Regions from separate parts of the Homo sapiens genome. Here region 1 is linked to region 2. The links are contacts of gene promoters, found by promoter capture Hi-C in blood cells and fetal thymus (Javierre and others, 2016). All regions are on one chromosome and are shown on one strand. The core of a region is centred on a gene start or on the middle of the fragment in contact, and the rest is flanking DNA. Distances in the headings are between cores, read along the strand shown.

Region 1 (3,080 bases), core at 1-2,500, 240 kb before region 2:
GGAGGAAGATCCTTGGTACCCCTGCTCTCTCCAAGGCTGGGACTAGTGTTCCTGGTTGTGGCCAGGTGTGCAGTGGTTGTGACAGCAGATGGTCTTGGCTTGGTCCTAGCAGAGGCTGTGACCCCATACATGGGCCTGATGGTGCCGAAAGGCCTGGCGTGAGCATCCACCCACCGCAGCAGGGCCTGTGGTCTCCACTGACAGATGCTGAGCAGGGCCAGGACATCACCCTCAGCCGTGTGCGAGTCTGGAGGGGACTGCCCATACAGGCGAGTGTAGATGCTGCCTAGGCTATAGCTCTTCCTTGGGCCGTGTTCTGAGGGGCTGCTTGCTCGCTCCAGGGCCTTCAGCGCAGTGATGCTATCCACACAGAAGGCACCATCCAGAGCACTGGTGAGGCCCAGCATAGCCAGCTCTGCTTGGAGCAGGGGGAAGTCGTAGCGGTCACCATTGTGTGCCACCAGGCACCAGGGCTGTGGCTGGCGCCGCAGGAAGGCTAGGAGCAGGTTGGCCAGGTTGTCATCAAAACATTGACGCCCATGCGCTGCCAGCACAGCTGTGCTCAGACCTGTGATCTCGCTGGCTGCAGGGCTGCAGGCCTTCCCCGGAGCCACACACAGGGAGAGCTTGTCTACCACACGCGGTGGTGGAGGAACTGTGGGAGGTGGCCCCTGAGAGGTGGGGGGGCTCTCCAGGGCACATCTGTGGACAGCCAGCAGGCACAGCTCCGTGACCTTGGGCTGGGAGAAGGGCAAGCCAGTGGCCTCCATGTCGAAAAAGATGAGGGTCTGCATGGGCCCCGGGGGCAGGGCCTGCGAGCCCATGGTTGGGTACGTACCTGCTGCTGAGCCTGGAGAGGAGCATGGGGTGGGTGTGTGAGTGCCCAGTGTTAAGATCCGAAGGGGAGGGAGTGGGGTAGGGGGTGGGCAGAAGCACATCTCAGGCCTTCCCTGCACAATCCTGCCCTGTCTGCGAGCTCCAGGGCCCATTTTCAGGCAGGAAGTTGGAGAGGGTGAGGTGGTTTCCTTAGTGGGACCAGCACATTCGACTGTCTGAGAGGGTCTCCCTCTTCACATGACTCGGCCCCTCCCCTAGTGCCCCCTTAGTCTGGGGTGGGGGAACCCATGGCCCTCCTGCCCTGCGCCATCCCATTGTGGGGGCCACACTCACCGTAGCAGGCAGGCAGGCAGGCAGTAGTGACTCGGCTGCACACTCTCCCGCGGCTCTCGCTGGCAGCAGTGGCGGGAAGTGAAACTTGGCGTGGGCCCGCCTACAGGCCCACGTGAGCCAGGCCCGCCCTGCTCGTCAGCCTGCCTGGTCTGTCCCTCTCACCACCATCCGTTCCCCCCCACACCCACTCCCCTGCTCCCGGGGGACCCCAGAGGCCTTCCAAGATCCACAGCTGTGGCCTGCTGGTGGCACAATGCACCGGGGCCATCATACCAGTGACAGGCAGCTGGAAGGACCAGGGCAGTGGTGCCAGACCAGCTCCCGGTCTTACACACTGCTGGGAGCCCCTGCTGCGGCCCTTTCATGCCCACCTGTGGGTCCCAGTTTCCCAGGCTTTCCTGGTTTAGGCCTGGGCCAAGAGCCACCTCCTTCCCTGCCACACAATGGTTTCTTCCCATGGCCCCAGCCCAAAGCAATGACTCAGGACAATTCCACAGGCAGGGCAGGGCTCCTTCCTCAAGGCAGATCAGTTACCATGGGGACGGGCTCAGCAACAGCCAGGGACAGGAAGAAGGATCCCAGCCACTCAGGGTCCGGGTCCTGCTCCACCCCTCCCACTCCGCCAAACAGATCAGACTCAGGAAACAAGGCCAGCCAGTTCTCTGGGCAGTTCCTGCTGGTCACTGCTTTAATCAGTTGATGTGGTAAGGAAAGGAGTGGTGCTGGTGCCACCATGTGGCTGGACACTCAGGGCCTCAGCCACACTCCACCTCGGGGTCTTCCACATCGGTTTCCGCGGCACAGAGGTCATCCAGGGCTGCCTCTGAGACAAAAAGGAGAGGTTCCTGGTGAGGGCCCAAAGGTGCCAGGGCCTAGGGCAGGTCCCACCTCTCCTCCCCCAACGTCCGCAGGAACTAACCAGTCCCTTCCACACCCAGGCCCTGCTCCCTCAGCTACTGCAAACAAAGTGATACAAAGGCAATTCAGACACGGCTATTTCTGGAAAAACCGTGGCTCTGCCAGGCACACTCAACAGATAGATGCAAAAGGCATCCCAATATGCTTGGAGAAGAACTGAGGCAGGAAGATAAAAGAAAATGGCCCCAGTGCTGGAACAGGCTGCAGTGGGCGGGGGCCTGCTGAGGGGACACCCAGGAATCTGACTTGTTGGGGAACCTCTGGAAGAAGCCATGGGGGCTGGGCAGGATGGCCTCTGGCAGGCTTACCTTCACAGTCCGTCACATCAGGAAGCCCTCGGATGAGCATGCTGACCCCCGGCATCACCTGGTCAAACTGATGCAGGACCTCCACGCAGTGCATCATGAAGAGCTTGTCCTTCTGCGATAGGCCGTGCAGCAGCAGCACCGTGTCCCGCAGACAGCGCACTGTCCGCCTCTGCTGGTCGGTCCTTGGGGGTCCCCCTGCCCTCCGCACTGTCAGCCACTGTCTGTGCAACATCACCGTGAGCGCTCTGACCACCTGAGAGAGGGGGGGTGCAGACTGAGGCCTGGTGCCACCATGGCCTGCACCCTAACAATCCGCTCAGCCTAGCCACCTCACGTGAGGGGGTTTGCAGTGGGGCCTACAGTCCTTGCACGGGGCCCCCTTACCACCAGAGCTGCCAGCTGTTGGCCCCTACCCACTCACCTCCACATTACACTGGCAGTTGGAGCCAGTGACTGGGGGCAAGGGGCTCTGCACACCAAGCTTAGCCAGGAGCCACACCACCTAGAACAAGAACAGATTGGTTCCATCCTGGGCAGAAGGAGACCAGTCCCTGCGAGGGTTTTCTTAAGCTTCTATAAGAGTTCACTTGCTTCAGCAACTGTTTGTCTGCACAAATGGGGTCCAAGAAGTGGTGTGGGACCTTCCCAGGGAAGACCCAGGACAAGCACTCATGTGTCACCAGC
Region 2 (5,083 bases), core at 875-3,374:
CCTGGATGGAACACTGCCCTCGCCACCTCTGTGTCACACTCACACACACTCACACTCACACGTGGACTCCCTGAGCTAAGGGCTCAGTTGTGGTGAGAGAGAGGAGGCAAAACAAGTGAGACTGAAGCCTGAGGAAATTGCTCTCATAGTTTATTTCTCAGAGCCCAGAAGCCTGAGCCAGGGTAGGGCACACACTAGGACTCTGTCCTGGGTACAAGATTCCGCAAAAAATCCTTGATTCTCTGGACAATTCTTTTAAACTCTTTGCCAATCTTCTCTTTAGATTTCCGGAAGAAATCACCCAGCAGGGCAAATCTCTTGTTATCCTGGGGTTGTGTACAGGAAGAAACAGGTTCCTTGTCGGGGATGTACCCAGGGTCAATCCAAGACCCCTCCCCACCTAGACGCCCCTCTTCGTGGGCCCCCGCAGGAGCTTTGGGGCCCCAGTTCAACCTCTGGCTGTGACCTTTGAAGCATGTGATTGAATCCCTACACCCAATAAAAAGATGAGAAAACAGAGTCCCGGAGATAGTGAGGGGCTCTGCAGGGTCACACAGCCCAGCCCAGCAACACTGAGATGGGAACACAGGGCTGAGAGCTGAGTACTCTTAGACAGTGGCTCTCAAACTTTACAGAAGCCGGAATCTCCTGGAAAGCTTATCAAAATACGAATTTCTGGGCCCTACCCAGAGTCTGTCTGAGTAGGTCTGAGTAGGGCCTGAGAATTTGCATATCTAACGAGTCCCCAGGAAGGGCTACACTTGGAGATCTACCGCTCTAAGGGATTCCAGAGCCGGCCCTGGAGATGGAACTCAGGTTTGGGGAAGAGCCCTGGGTAGGAGGGGCTTTCTCTGTCCTGGGTTGGGGGAGTAGTTAATTGACCCATTGGATGGTCCACACTCTATGCCCCCATCAGCCCCTGCATCCCAGAACAGCCCACTCACCTTATCACAACTGATGTCAAAGGAGCCCCTGGCCTGGTTGAGGGTCACTGTCCCCATACACCGCTTCACCAGCTGGAAAGGAGAAGCTCAAGGTCAAACTTGAAACCATTTGCCATGACCTCCCAGCCACATCCCAGTGGGAAATATTCCCCAGGTGCCCCCTGTTCAGCTCCTTGGGAGGCACCCACCAACACCCCCAGCCCCCAGCCTCACCCCGTCCTTCTTGAAGTCACAATCCTCTGGTGACTGCTGTGTCGTCCTGGGGCACACTGTCTCCTTCACTGTGAAGCTCACAGGCTTTGGCGTGTCTGGGTCCCCATCCTAGTCAGAGGAGGAAATGGGGAGGCCCATTCTTGTATTTTCTGATTTGTGTCCATGACCTCCCCACCAAGAGGGCAGGCTTTCCACAGTACCTGATGTGCGACGGGCACTGGGTGCTGGGCTTGGCACTGGGGCATTGAGGGGAGGAGGACTGAGCCATTCCTACCCTCCTAGGTGAACAGTGAGTAGGAGCAGACCTCAGATGAGCTCTAACAAGGAGCCCCTCCCACTCTGGGGTGGGGGCAAGGGAAGTCAGGGGGCTTCCTGGGGGACAAGACATGCCCACTGGAACCTAAAGTCTGGATAGAGTTCTTCCCTATGTGGGGTAACGTGGTACAGAAGAGACTTAAAGCAGAGGAGGTCACTGCCCAGAGCCAATGACCCCATTCTAGTGCCTGGAGCTCGCAGAAGTCCCAAAACCTGCGTGGGGTCGGGGTGAGGGTATCTCTGCCACAGCAGGAATTATAAGGCAGGAAGCTCTCGAGCTGGGAGGAGACACGAGCTCTAGAAGGTTCCCTGGAAAACACGGGACCACATTTAAAGGGGGAGATGCCCTCCTGGCAGGCAGTGCAGCAGGAGCAGAAGGAACAACACGTGGCCAAGCCCAGCCAGAGCAGAGCAGAATGTCCCCCAAAGCTCACCATCGTGGGCCTGGGGTCCAGGTCCAGGAGGCGGTAGAGGTTAGCATCCGAGGACCGCTGGTTGATGCCATCTATAGCACGAAGCACAGCTTCCTTGTAGCTGAGGACCTGGGCAATGATGGCCAGAGGCATCACCAGGCCCAGCAGCAGGAGCACCAGTGACCACCGCCCCAGGGAGTGGCCATCCCTTTGGGTCTTCATGGTCCCCATGTCTGCCTCCCTCTAGCCCACAGGAGCCTCCTTTATGCCCAGCCTGAGCCTGATGCAAAAGCCCAACCAGGAGCCTTCCTGATCCACCCATCCCTGGCTGCCTGCCAGGGTGTGGGCTGGGGTTTGCTTTAGCCCCTGGCTATTGCTTCACAGGACTTGCTGGGCAGTGAGTGAGGCCTTCCTTGTGTGCAAGATGAGGAAGTGGTTTCTTCATCTCTGACAACCTCCCAGACCTGACCGGAGATTGTCATAGCCAGGGGTGCTCAAGAGCGTTAAATCCCTCCAGAGAGGAAGAGAGCCAGGTGCCTATTCTACATCCTTCTACTCCTCAGGAGTCAGTATGATGGACTGCTAAATCTCCAGCTCTAGGCATTGCCTGGCACCCTGTAGGCATCGATTAAGAATTGATGAATGAGGCAGGGCACGGTGGCTCACGCCTATAATCCCAGCACTTTGGGAGGCCAAGGTGGGCGGATCACCTGAGATAAGGAGTTCGAGACAAGCTTGGCCAACATGGTGAAACCCCATCTCTACTAAAAATATGAAAATTAGCCACGCATGATGGCTCACACCTGTAGTCCCAGCTACAAGCTGAGGCATGAGAATCACTTGAACCCATTGAACCCGGGAAGCAGAAGTTGCAGTTAGCTGAGATCATGCCACTGCACTCCAGCCTGGGTAACAGAGTGAGACTCAGTATGAAAAAAAAAAAAAAGAACTGGTAAATGAAGACAGTAGCCACCCCCAACCTAGAGACTCACTCTTGCAAGGGACAAGTTGCCCTTTCAGTTCAAGGCCATACCACATGCTCTCTGGACCCAGCCGTCAGCCAGACGAAGGCTCTGCTCCATCTATCCCCTTCTGCATCCTTCTTCACTGTTTTTTTCAGTCTCAAAATGTTCCCAAGCCCCTCCAGACATGGCCTTTCACCATGGCTTCTCCCAAGCCAAGTCTTAGGAAAGGTTGTCTACGCTTCTTGACCCCATCTTTTCACTCTTCTTCATGCTGAAGGCCACTGAAGGCTGGCCAACCCACCCTTGGTCCATGGCCACCCTCAAGCCTGGTCTTTGTCTGCACAGGCACTGGTGAGCCTTCCTTCTTGCTGCCCCGGTCTCCCCTGATGCCACTCTCCTGCTGTCCCTCCTGCCTCCCTGGTGGCTCCTTCTTGGTCTCCCCTAAGGGCTGTCTTCTTAATATTGAGAGCGTGTGGGGTCACCTCCTGGGCTGCTTCTCTTCCCTGGCCTCGGGTTTCCCTGGGGACGCCCTCTCCCAGGACACCAGTTATAATAGGCAGACACCACCCAGTCTGTATCTCTGAGTTCGAGACTCCCATGAACGTCCCGGTTGTCCCCACTGGGCCTCCTTGACTGCTCTTCTGCTGAGTGCCCACTGCATGAGCCCTGAAGCACCTTTGGCTCCTTCCTCCCGAAAGCACTCCCCTCTGGCCTCTCCTTCCACCCCTGCCTGGCTCCTGCCGCCATCTTCTCTCCCATGCAATGCTGCCCCAGCCTCCAGACTCCACCTTCTCTAGGTTTCAGGCTCTCCCCAGACCACAGTCCACCCTCCACACCGTTGTCCAGGGGTTCCTTTAAACCACCAATTTGGCCATTTCAACCCTCTACCTTCAGGAGCCCACACACCCCCTAGGCTGGCATCAGGGCCTGTGGCCTTTTGGTTCCCACTGCCCTCACCCCAGCCCTGCACACTGCAAGTGCCAGACTGTCACGTATGCCCCCATCACATAGGCTCATCTGAGCCTCCTGCTCTTTCTCCCAGCTCTGCCCCGATCCTTCTGTTTGGCCTGCCCTTTCACCTCATGAAGCTTTCCCTGACCTCCAACCAGGCACAGCAATCTCCTCTTTGCCCCTACATCTTCCAGGAAGTCTCTCCTGATTCGACCTCAAATTACTCCCTGTTTGGTGCTCTAGCTGAGACACCAAGCTGGGATGGGTGGCTGGTGTTGGGAGAGGGAGAGATCACAGCCAGGAGAGATAAAGGGCCAAAGTGATAGAGGGGTCCAGCGTCCATGAGGCAAATTCCGGTCCCAGCTCCTCTGTGGACTGGCCATGTGGCCCTGAGGCCTGGGGTACCTCTTGACCTCAGTTGGCCTGTGGGACACTTGGGGGCTTGGACAGCAGGGCTCCTGGAAGGTGGAAGCCTGGACGAAGGCCACCGGTTGCACACCTGGCCTTGAGAGAAGGAAGAAGTGGGCTTCTGTGCAACCTGGTTTCACAGTTCAAGTGTTGCCCCAGTGGCCTGTTGGTCAAGCAGGGCTTGCACATCAGGTCTTTTATGGCTGTTGGGAAAAGGGCCATCCAGGGATATCAGACCTCTCAGGGCTCTCCTGCTTCCTCCACCCTTCTGACTGGCTTCAGGATCCCCAAGAAGCCAAACCGGGGAGAAGCAGATGGCAATGTTAGTCCTTAGGCTAGGGCGTGAGAGCTGCATGCTCCTGTGTTCCTCTAGGTCAGATCTGGCATATTCAGAGCCCCTTTCCAACTGCCTCAAGAGGACGTTCCACTTCGGCCAGTGCTGGACACGCCCTCACATGAAATCAGCCAGAGCCCAAGCAGCTTGCATAGGCCCTCTGATACAACTGCAGAAGTCTGGACTCAGGGGCACTTGCTTTCCCTCTCAGGGCCATCGCACAAGGTCCAGGCTTCCCAGGTTCCAGGAGTGAGTCCTGCCCTCGGCACATGCAGGTCGGTGTCCACTACCTGAGGTAGGGCGGCTGACTTCAGACCTTTAGAACCCATGGCTGCCCCTTCCTCCTAGAGAGGGAGAAAGGAGGCTCTCACCAGCTCGCCTTTTTCATAATGGCTCACCCCATTAATAGAGTGATCAGAAGATTCTAGGCAAGGCGGAATGAGAAAAGAAAAGTGAGGCTTAGCCGGGCGCGGTGGCTCACGCCCGTAATCCCAGCACTTTGGAAGGCCGAGGTGGCCTGATCATGAGGTCAGGAGATTG

Evidence for each region. Contacts are between HindIII fragments. The CHiCAGO score rates a contact against its expected background, and 5 or more counts as called.
Region 1: a contact is called between the fragment with the promoter of TREX1 here and the fragment with the promoter of CAMP in region 2, in 6 of 17 cell types (endothelial precursors, megakaryocytes, erythroblasts and 3 more). The highest score is 8.6, in endothelial precursors.

What each region holds. Positions count from the first base shown.
Region 1 is chr3:48,464,400-48,467,479 of GRCh38, reverse strand. TREX1 (three prime repair exonuclease 1) reads right to left here and starts at 1,250. Exons shown (of 2, transcript NM_033629.6): 1 at 1,171-1,250; 2 at 1-850. The coding sequence starts at 824. ATRIP (ATR interacting protein) reads right to left here. Exons shown (of 13, transcript NM_130384.3): 11 at 2,818-2,898; 12 at 2,397-2,649; 13 at 1-1,993. The coding sequence ends at 1,926. ATRIP-TREX1 (ATRIP-TREX1 readthrough) reads right to left here. Exons shown (of 15, transcript NR_153405.1): 12 at 2,818-2,898; 13 at 2,397-2,649; 14 at 1,171-1,993; 15 at 1-850. RefSeq lists enhancers at 1-440, 655-854, 441-1,322, 1,935-2,024. The HindIII fragment of the contact is 3,980 bases long and covers 1-2,879 here.
Region 2 is chr3:48,220,536-48,225,618 of GRCh38, reverse strand. It overlaps CAMP (cathelicidin antimicrobial peptide), which reads right to left and starts at 2,124. Exons shown (of 4, transcript NM_004345.5): 1 at 1,907-2,124; 2 at 1,158-1,265; 3 at 945-1,016; 4 at 134-326. The coding sequence starts at 2,107. The coding sequence ends at 195. RefSeq lists a silencer at 2,146-2,440 and enhancers at 2,450-2,499, 2,510-2,639, 2,660-2,779. The HindIII fragment of the contact is 1,963 bases long and covers 659-2,621 here.